Regions from separate parts of the Homo sapiens genome. Here regions 1 and 2 are each linked to region 3. The links are contacts of gene promoters, found by promoter capture Hi-C in blood cells and fetal thymus (Javierre and others, 2016). All regions are on one chromosome and are shown on one strand. Each heading gives the region's core, a stretch centred on a gene start or on the middle of the fragment in contact. The rest is flanking DNA. Distances are from core to core; before and after follow the strand shown. Region 1 overlaps NSMAF (neutral sphingomyelinase activation associated factor). Region 2 has its middle 6.4 kb from the start of UBXN2B. Region 3 holds the start of ASPH (aspartate beta-hydroxylase).

Region 1 (3,513 bases), core at 742-3,241, 3.1 Mb after region 3:
ATATCCTCGTTACGGAATTATTTTCTCTTTCCTGAAGAATATCCTTTAGAAGTTCCTCTGATCAGGGTTGGATGATGATAAACCACCTCTGTTTTTGTCTGTCTGAACATATCCTTATTTTCCTTTTGCTTTGAAAATCCGTTTTGCTAGATGTTTAATTCTCAGCATTTTGAAGATTATCCAAACAAAGGCAAAGGGCCAGGGAATATGCATCAGACTTGCTGGAGTGCTCTGGGGTGTTGGGGGGGTACCTCACAGAGAAAGGTCAGTGATAGTTGTGCCTTGTCCCCCTGGGGTAACGTTCAGCTACCTGGCTGGGCCAACTTCAGACTTCAGGAGAAACCAGCACTCCAGGGAGTGACCAGGGGCCAGAGTACAGTAGGACCATACTGTGATGGAACCTTGGCTCACTCATCCCAGCTCAGCATGTGTGGCTGCAGGATATCCTTACCTCCTTGCTGGCTTGATTGGGGCTAAGTCTGTATAATGTGGCAGAGTTTGTTCTTGATTGGGGAAACACCAGCCTTTTTCCTGGCATGGTCAGGGGACCAGGGTTCAAGCCTTGTGGTTGATGAGGTTTGATTGCCTTAAACACAATCATAGCAGTTTTCCCTGAAACTTTGCAGGAGGCCACCTTCTCTTCTGGGAGACCAGCCTGCAACAAACCAATATTGTTAAGTCTAATTGTTCTTTGTAGGTAATCTCTCTTTTCTCTGACTGCTTTTAAGATCTCCTCTCTGTAGTTTTTTGCTGTCTAGATATAGATTTTTTTTTCTTCATCTATCCTGCTTGAGCTTCCTAAAGCTAAAAGTTTTGGAAAATTTGGAGCCAAGCTGAACTAAGGCTAGAACAAATGTTCTCTGATCCAAGTCCAACCTCTTTTCCACTGTACCATACTGCTTCTATTTTAAATACTAGGTTGTGGGCTACTGGCCAGTGCTTATTTTTATGGTATCCTTGAAGTTTAGACTGATTCAGGAATGAATGAAGCCTGTTTTATGTAGATATCAGAATCTTGTTAGTCAAAGTGTTGTCCACAGGCCAGCAGCGCATGTGTGCCTGGAGCTTGTTAGAAATGCACATTCTCAGGCCTCACCCTGAAGCTGCTGCCTTGGAATGTGCATTTTAACAAGATCCCCAGTTGATTGTGTGCACACTAACCTTTGTGAAGCGCTGCGCTAGATAACAGTAATTCAGCATTCATCTTGATTTTTTATTTGTTTGTTCCTTCCAACTGAACTTCCTTCTTTAACTTCTTGATAGTACATATAAAAAGGCTGAGGGAAGCCTCCTGCCCTGCAGTATGACACTTGATGAGGAAACTGGAGGACTTTGAGAGCATAGATGACATTTTTACCATTTCTTCTCATAAATTGCTGGGACTTGAAAATAGAATTGACTGGCTTTATGGATGGTGTCAGTGAAAGGGATTTTGATATCTGAACCATCTTGGCTGGAAGTCACTGCATCTCACATAGTCAGGGAGAATGTAATTTTCTAGAGTCCAGCTGAGTGATAGAAAGCTTTAACCTAATTACTGAGGGGAAGGGCTAAAAAGGCCAGATGAAATAGTGAAATTGTTTAAATTCATGAGAACTCTTTCTGGGAGGGAAGAAGGGCCAGTAATTTATAGGAGAAAACAACTGGTACAGGAACTAGAAATGATACTTAGTCCCTCAGATGTCTCTCTGCAAATGTGTAGAACATGGATAATAAAATGAGCCAGGTCTTTTAACAAAAAAGGATTAATGTGTGTTTTAGGTGTCACTGGAGTTGGGTAAGATGAGACCCAAGATTGGAATCTAGTGTTGAAAAGCTGCAGACCTATTGAAAAGGAAAGACCTGCCAGGAGGTGAGGCAGTGGGCTCTGAATGTTAAGAAGGTATACATCTGAAGGGGAATCCATGAAACCCCAGGAAAAAATCCCAGAGAACACAATTGGAAAGAGGAACAAAGATAACATGATTGTGTTCTTTTGTTACAGGCCACGTTAAGTGGGTGGAAGAAATGGTGGCTGTGTACCTGGTGTAAATGGGAAAACAGGAAGTGGCAATAGAGATACTGGCTGAAATGCTTAGTGAAATCTAAGTACAGTTTATTGACTTCCTTTCTTAAAGTTTTAATTTATCCTAAACTTGAGAACTTTACTTAATTCTGAATATTAAAGACAAATTATTAACCAAGTAGCAATGAAATGAACCATCATAAAAAGCAGTCATATCAAGTTGTTTATTGCTGGAGCTCAGGAGAGTTGAGAGGGATCCTGTCATACATAGAACCTAGAATTTTAAGAAAGCAGATATTGAAAGTTCCAAGGAACAAAAAAGATAGGTGCTGTTACTGGACAGTTTGGAAAGCATATTGACCCAGGAAGTTTGTGAAACTGTCAAAAATACAATTAAGAACATCTAATCCAAATGATCTTTTGTGAGGAGTTACAGAAAATCAGGCAAGCTTGCATGTTGGAAGGAAGCTAAAAAAGAAAAAGAAAATCAGGCTAGCAAATAAAGAATGGTTGTACAGGTAGTATTTCTCTGAGTTTATAATTATTAGTTTTAATATAAAACAAGAAGGTTATACATAGTTAATTTCAAAAAGGTTAAAGCCCCAAATGAGTGGAACCTTTGAAAAATGGTACAGATTAAAAAAATAAAAACAAAAAAACTTCCAAAGTTGCCCTTGGAACTAGGAAGTACTGGGCTGCTGCCTAGGCCTAGCCTGGTACCAGGTGTAACATTGATTTATGACAGGGAAAGCTCTTATTTTGTACTCTATTAATAATACTAATCTTCAGACTGAAAGAGGATGAACTTTCGCAAGATGGGTGAAGATGCAAATGGTACCCAAGTGCTTATGTCTCCTGGCGTAAAATCCTGGGAGAGTTTGAGTGTAGAACCACAGAATTATTTCAATGATCTAGGAACTTTGAAAGGTGCTGAAAGAACATGTGTGCATAAATAGGTTTAATGCAAATTCTAGATCAGACAGATTATTTATAAACCACTAGAAGAGGAAGTTGTTGTCACCAGTCCCCAGCATGAACGTCATGCTGCTAATTCAAGAGAGGTTTAATGGGCTCACAGTTCTGCAGGCTGTACAGGAAAGAAGGATGGCACTGGCATGTGCTTGGCTTCTGGTGAAGCCTCAGGGAGCTTTTACTCATGGTGGAAGGTGAAGTGGGAGCAGGTACATCACATGGCAAGAGAGGGAGCAAGAGAGAGGAGGAGGAGGCTCTGGACTCTTTTAAACAACCACAACCGGATCTCATGTGAACTAACTGAGCATGAACTCACTTATTACCAAGGGGATGGTGCTGAGGCATTCATGAGGGATCTGCCCCCATGATCAGGTCACCTCCCACTGGACCCTACTTTCAACATTGGTAATTCCATATTAACATGAGATTCGGAGGGGACAAACATCCGAACTATATCATTCTGCCCCTGGCCCCCTAAATCTCATGTTCTTCTTACATTGGAAAATACAATCATTTCTTCCCAATAGTCCCCCAAA
Region 2 (3,318 bases), core at 300-2,799, 3.3 Mb after region 3:
GCTTATGAGAGCCTACTGTTAAATTTTTAGGAATTTTGCAAGGCAGTTGTTAAACAGGGATTATTAAAAATTAAATGATATAAATGTACAACTAAATTATACAAAAAACTCATGCAATAAATATTCAAATCTCTAATTTCCTAGTTATTTGAATACATTTTGCTATTATCTATGCTCCTGAGGGGATTTACATCTATTGGATCTATATGGTGGAGATGCTATTGCACACCTCTTCCCAATTCGCATTCAGTGACAACATGTTAGTAGCTTGAAATCTACCATGGTGTAAGTATTCCCACCTCAGAAATTGGTAAACGCCATAAATAAAAGTTCGATTTCTTGTTTTGTTGATTGCCCACTGGAGATTTAAGGATCTGTTGGAGAAAATGTTTACGAGGCAGATAAGACTTAAAAGTATGCTGTGCCTGCAGCTGTTATGCTGTGAATAGCAAAAGAAAAAAAATGTAAATTTTCCTCTAGTATTTGAAAATTACTAGCTGATTCCGGAAGAAGTTGCTCACGTTGTTGAGTTACTATGGGTGTTTGTGTTTCACTTGCATCTTATGTGTATCTTGTTAATGTGAACAAAAATATCAACAAACATTCAAGTGGTCGCCTTGAAGTCTCCTTTCTTTTGGCTTGTGATGAAAGTGATATCTTTCCCCATTCTTCTTCAAAGAACTACGACCACATACCTCACTCTCCTTGATTCTCTATTTTCTGTTCTCAAAGTGGGTGAGGAGGTTCAAGAATCATGACATTCATCGTCTTTGAAACATTCTCCAGGAGCATCTTTCTCACACCCATTTTGACCTATCATATATATTATGGGGTCCTTAAACTGGAAACTTAATGTTAAACATTTTATTATACTTATTTTCTCCTTCCATTAGACTAAGCTCATGGAGTATGTGGGCCAGGACTTCATCTCTAGTGCCTTAACACAGAACCTGGAACCATAATATGTACTTTTAATAACTATTTGCATGAGTGAGTGAATGAAGGTGGTAGGGATCCTGTATTGGTCTGTTCTTGTGCTGCTATAAAGAAATATCCGAGACTGGATAATTTATAAAGAAAAGGGGCTAAATGGCTCATTGTTCTGCAGGCTATAGAGGTAGCAGAACAGCTTCTGCTTGGCTTCTAGAGGCCTCAGGAAAGTTATAATCATGGCAGAAGGCAAAGGGGAAGAGAAGCAGGTACATCTTACATGTCTGGAGCAGGAGGAAGTGTGGGGAGGTGCCACACACTTTTAAACAAACAGATCTTGTGAGAACTCTATCACAAGAACAGCACTGGGGGGATAGTGCTAAACCATTAGAAGCAGCCCCTGTTATCCAATCACCTCCCACCAGGGCCCACCTCTAGCACAGGAGATTACATTTCAACCTGAGATTTGGGTGGGGGCACAGATCCAAACCATATCAGATCCATAACTCAAACCACATTTGACTATCTCCAAAGCCCATTTTCCATTCATGGAAAGTCAAGAAATAAGAAGATCTATCAACAGATATCTTCATTAGATACAGACAGGACAGACAGTATAAAATGCAGGCCTATTTATATTGCACTTCTAAACCAAATCCAGCTCCAACTTCACAACCTAAATGAAACTCACGTTTGTGTAATTTTACATATGCTGGACATCACTGAGAACAAGATCAGAGGTCACTGTAATATATAATGGCCTTGTTCCATCCTTTAAAACATTTTTATCTCATTCTAAAAATAGAAATAGAATATTTACAGTTGGTAATTTTCATGGATTGCACATTATTTCATGTAATCTACAACAACTTTCTGGGATAGGTATTGTCTCCATCTTACAGAAGTAGTTGAGGATCAGAGAAATAAGATGAATTTCCTTATGTCACTCAGCTATTAAGTAGCAGAACTAAATTTTAAATTCAGGTCCATTACACTCAAAAGCATATGTTTTTTTTTTTGTTTGTGTTTTTGGTTAAAAAATACCATCTCCGTGTCTCCTGGGAGCTTTTTGCAGCCTCTGACTCTTGTGATTTTACCTTTCCTGAAATTTCCTCATGATACTGCTTAACATTGGTCTTCTTACCTACCTGACCATTCCTTTTGAGCTTCTCCTAACATTTTATCTTCTATCCACCCTCTAAATAATGATGTTCTTTAGGGCTCTGCCTTTGCCACTCTTATTTGCTCACTGTGTATATGCTTTCGCTGTTCAATATCTTCTGTTCTCATACCTACTATTTACACACAGTCAATTCTCATTATTTACAGTAGTTATGTTCCTTAAAGCCATTGAGAACACTGAGTTATTGAATACTGAATCATTGCTGCTAGGGAAAATACAGGGTAGGTTCCTGTGAACTTCTTACATTTTCATCAACTGATCAATGCATAACCTTGTTTTATGTCTATTTCTGTTGAAGACCCCATGTTTAATATGATCATTGATCCACTCACATTGAACTCACAGCCACCAGCACTATAACTCCTGCATGAAGGAAGTTTATCTAGCACATGCATTTTCTCCATAAGGACATCACAGCCTCTTGTACTTAGGAACACCAGACAGTACTTCAGCACTACCCTTGGGGGCCATCTCAAACAGCAAAATCACCAACAAAAAGCACAAACATGTGAAAAACATGGCACTAAATAGAATGTGCAAGGACACTTATTTAAAGTATAAAAGCTGAAATAAAAAGGCAGAATGTCACCTTGTTTGAGCTCAGCTGGGAATGTGCTCATGGGGCAACAGAAATATTTTGCTCCTTTGTGTCTGGGTTTGATCACAAAGCACTGCATGTATTTGGTTTGGGGGTCACAAATACATTTTGTGAGTAGGTGAATATGCAAATATGGAATCTGCGAATAACTAGAATGGACTGTATCTAAGACTCCCAAATCTCTTTTTCCAATACCCAGGTCCCTCTCTTACCCCACATCTACATTTCCAATTGTCTTTTCAACTGATATTTTCATTTGGATGTCTCAAAAACATTTGTGTCTCCAACTAATCCTCTGTTTTTGTCGTACAAACCCACTTCTTTTTCATTCTATCATTTATTAGATCAGCATCTAGCTTCAGCTAGAAATCAGGGTCATTTTAAATTCCTCTTTTGCCTTTAACCTTACAGTTTGTTGTTTACCAAATCTTCAATTTTTCCTCCAAAATATCTCTTCGATCTGTATTCTCCTCTTCACTCTTGCTTCCACTGGCACAGTTCACGATCTTCAGACTTCTGCCTTGGTTGTCACCCTGCCTCCCAGCTGGGGCCTCTGCTTTCATTCTGCCCTCTGTATCGCTCTCAGAACTATTTTTTAAAAGCACAA
Region 3 (3,053 bases), core at 52-2,551:
GTAAGGGGGCCCTGAATGGGAGAAAGGATATATGGATGCAGAAGGAGATGCCACAAGATAAAAGCTGAGAGAGCTACTTCAATAAAAACTCTGTGAACTCTCCCCTCCCACCGTCTCTTGATAATAGCCTAACACTATTTGACAAAAGGTAAAGAAAGGCATTCTCTTTATTCTGCAACATGACCTTTGGGGGGTTTCTGTGCATCATCAGGGCAGGGTCAAGCAGCATCCAACCATCCACAGGTGAAAAGGCATGGGGCCGGGGGGAGGCGGGAGTGCTTCTGAAGGCGCGGGTGGGTGGGTTTGTGGGGCTGGAAAAGAGGAATGAAACCAGATGCCACAATGCAACTGCTCTCTCTGGTCCCTGAGCCCTCCTGAGACACTCCCAGGGGTTGCTACGAAACATGATCAAGAGCTGTGGGTTCAGCAATTGACAGAAATGTATCAAATCACTAAGCATTTCTTGCTTGCCTGTTACACATTGGGCATGGTGTTAGCAATGGTGACACAAAGATGATAAAGACGTCGCTGATCTCAAGTCCTTGTCTGGTTCAACCACGTGCCAAGACATTTTAATACTCTGTTGGGAATTCTCAGGCAGCACAGGCCCAGGCGTTAGCAAAGCAGCCAGGGATTTCAGACAGAGGGTGCCATCCAGGGTAAGAAAATGAACTTTTTGTGTCACATTTGCATTTTCATTCCTTAACTAAGAGTATCTGAAAATACTGATGGCACAAACGAACTAAATTCCTGCTTCAGCACCAAATGGATGAACTACTACGGTTTAAGCATTGAACTAGTCCTAATATCACCATTCCAGAAATGTCTTAGTATTAATCAGGACAAGAAATAGGGATCTCTTTCGCAAGAAGCGAGACTGCACTCCTTCCTTTCCTTGTATACGGAAAGGGGACAAAATCCACAGTGAAAGGCCTAGAAGCGGCGCACTCCGCCCACGGGCGGCCCACGTGTCCACCTATTCCGCACCGCGCCCTGTCCCATCCCTATGGAGCGGGGTCTGCCAACGCTCGCGAGAGCCCTCTCGGCTTCCACGTTTGCCACGTTCCAAAGGACCGAGACAAACTGGAAAGCCGAAAGAGGCTCGCGCTCACAGGCAGCTGCGTAGCGCCCGAACAGCCCTAAGTGAGCAGGGGCGGGGAGCGCGGCAGGGTACCGCCGCCTCGTAAGGGCCCTTGCGATTGGGTCCCAGGCGCCGTCACTCAGCCTTCCGGGGGCGGGGCGAGGCCGGGAAGGGGCGTGGCCGTCGGGCGGCGAGCCGCGCGCTCTCGCCCCGGGAGGGAGTCACAGGTTCGTACACGCGAGGCCGGGCGCGCGCAGCCGGCAGGCGGGTGAAGTCTTCCCAGGTGCTGCAGGCGGTGCTGAGGCACAGGGTCTGCTGCAGGAGCAGCGGCCCGAACCCGCTCCAGCGGCCCGCCGCCGCCAGCGGTTCCCGCGTCGCGTGTGTACCCCCGCGCACTGAAGGAGGTCCGCCAGCCCTCACCAGCCCCCGCGGACCGTGCAATGGCCCAGCGTAAGAATGCCAAGAGCAGCGGCAACAGCAGCAGCAGCGGCTCCGGCAGCGGTAGCACGAGTGCGGGCAGCAGCAGCCCCGGGGCCCGGAGAGGTCAGAGGCCCTGCGGGGCGGGGATCTGGGGCCTCGCCTCGGGGTAGGGAGCCGGCTGGCGCGGCGGACGCTGCGGGTGCATCTCCCCAGGTCCCACCGCGCGCCGCCTCCATCCCCCGCGACGCTCCTCCTTTAGGCGCGCGGGGCGGAGGCCGCATTCGGCGGGCCTGGCGGGCGGGCGAGGGGCCAGGCGGACCGGGGTCCGAGCCCTCGGGATGCTAGTCTCGGGGAGCCCCTTCCCAGCGGTTCCTTCACCTGCAGGGCGCAGCCGAGACAGAGGTTGCTGAACGACTGTTTCTTGGCTTTCCGTGGAATTGAACATGGGAGTAAGAGAACAATTTATCGTTTGCCTTGCGTGTTTTGGGGAGTTGAAAATGAGCCAAAGTCAGGGAAAGTGAGTTCCTGCCTAACCAGCAGCGTTTCAGAGCAACTCAAAGGAGGTGAAAATGGGGGCGCCGGGGGGCAGGGGGAGGGAAGAAGTTGGGAGTGATTTGAATGCTCTCAGAAATTATTTTAAATATTTTTGCTTGTATGTAGCTTTCTTAATATGCGTTGCAGTTGCCTTTAAAATAGAATGTCATGAAATACTGAACGAGCGTCTGTATTTTTACCACTTTTACTTAAAATAAAAATCGATTGGATATTCACCTTTCTCCTCGTCCGTGTGCATATCCAGCAGAGAGAACAGATTTTTAAATCTGTTTCGTCTCATATTTCAGTGATTCTTGGTTTCTTTTATACTTCCTTTGACTCATATTTGGGATATTGAAACTGCAATACACATGTGTATGGAATGTGAGCTGTAAACTTCACTTGAAGTGATTTAGACTCTTTGTTTTCTGAGATCTTCAGATCATGCATTCATAATATACCAAGAAAATGAATCAGCTATAGTCAAAGAAGTATTTTCTTTATAGCACTTGTCACTATCTGAACTTGTCTTATTACTTTCATGTGTGTTGTCTTTGGCTCATTCTCTCTGTATCCCCAGCTCCTAGAATGTTCCTTTCCCATAATAGGTGCTCAATAAATATTTGAGTAGTGAATGAATGAATGGATTTAAATGGGGAAAGTAGTGCATTAAATCCATTGCACAAATTTACATTCTAAGGACTAATATTTGTATTCTAAAAGTAAAGATGTAGACACAGTTTGAAGTTCAATGCAAGCATATTAATTCACCTTTGACATAAGTGAAAGTTTGTGTTCCTTTTTCACTTGTTCTTAAATGTCACTTACTTAAACCTGCAGAGGGATAGATTAATTGCCTCAGCCGACTGAGGCTACTCTTTTTTAACATCCCTAAATGAGAATGGGTTCTTCTCATTGTGCCTCTAAGGGCACTAAGCAGAGAAAGCTGATGAACAACTTTAATGTTAGTTGTTTTCAAAAGGTTTCTGTAGCTATTTGCCAGAGAAGCATGTCTTCG

Evidence for each region. The method cuts DNA at HindIII sites, captures the fragments that hold promoters and counts their contacts. A CHiCAGO score of 5 or more calls a contact.
Region 1: a fragment that was not itself captured here is called in contact with the fragment with the promoter of ASPH in region 3 in 1 of 17 cell types (activated CD4 T cells); the score reaches 5.2 in activated CD4 T cells.
Region 2: a fragment that was not itself captured here is called in contact with the fragment with the promoter of ASPH in region 3 in 3 of 17 cell types (total B cells, activated CD4 T cells and non-activated CD4 T cells); the score reaches 8.5 in total B cells.

Annotation. Positions count from the first base shown.
Region 1 is chr8:58,649,422-58,652,934 of GRCh38, reverse strand. The region is part of intron 1 of NSMAF (neutral sphingomyelinase activation associated factor); the gene reads left to right. Among named protein-coding and RNA genes, the nearest start is that of NSMAF, 8.7 kb to the left of the region's middle. RefSeq lists an enhancer at 1,005-1,729. The HindIII fragment of the contact is 931 bases long and covers 1,526-2,456 here.
Region 2 is chr8:58,403,294-58,406,611 of GRCh38, reverse strand. No RefSeq gene overlaps it. Among named protein-coding and RNA genes, the nearest start is that of UBXN2B, 6.4 kb to the left of the region's middle. The HindIII fragment of the contact is 3,704 bases long and covers 1-3,318 here.
Region 3 is chr8:61,712,840-61,715,892 of GRCh38, reverse strand. ASPH (aspartate beta-hydroxylase) reads left to right here and starts at 1,301. Exons shown (of 25, transcript NM_004318.4): 1 at 1,301-1,624. The coding sequence starts at 1,522. MIR4470 (microRNA 4470) reads right to left here and starts at 1,105; the gene lies at 1,034-1,105. RefSeq lists silencers at 1,092-1,461, 1,502-1,931. The HindIII fragment of the contact is 6,840 bases long and covers 1-3,053 here.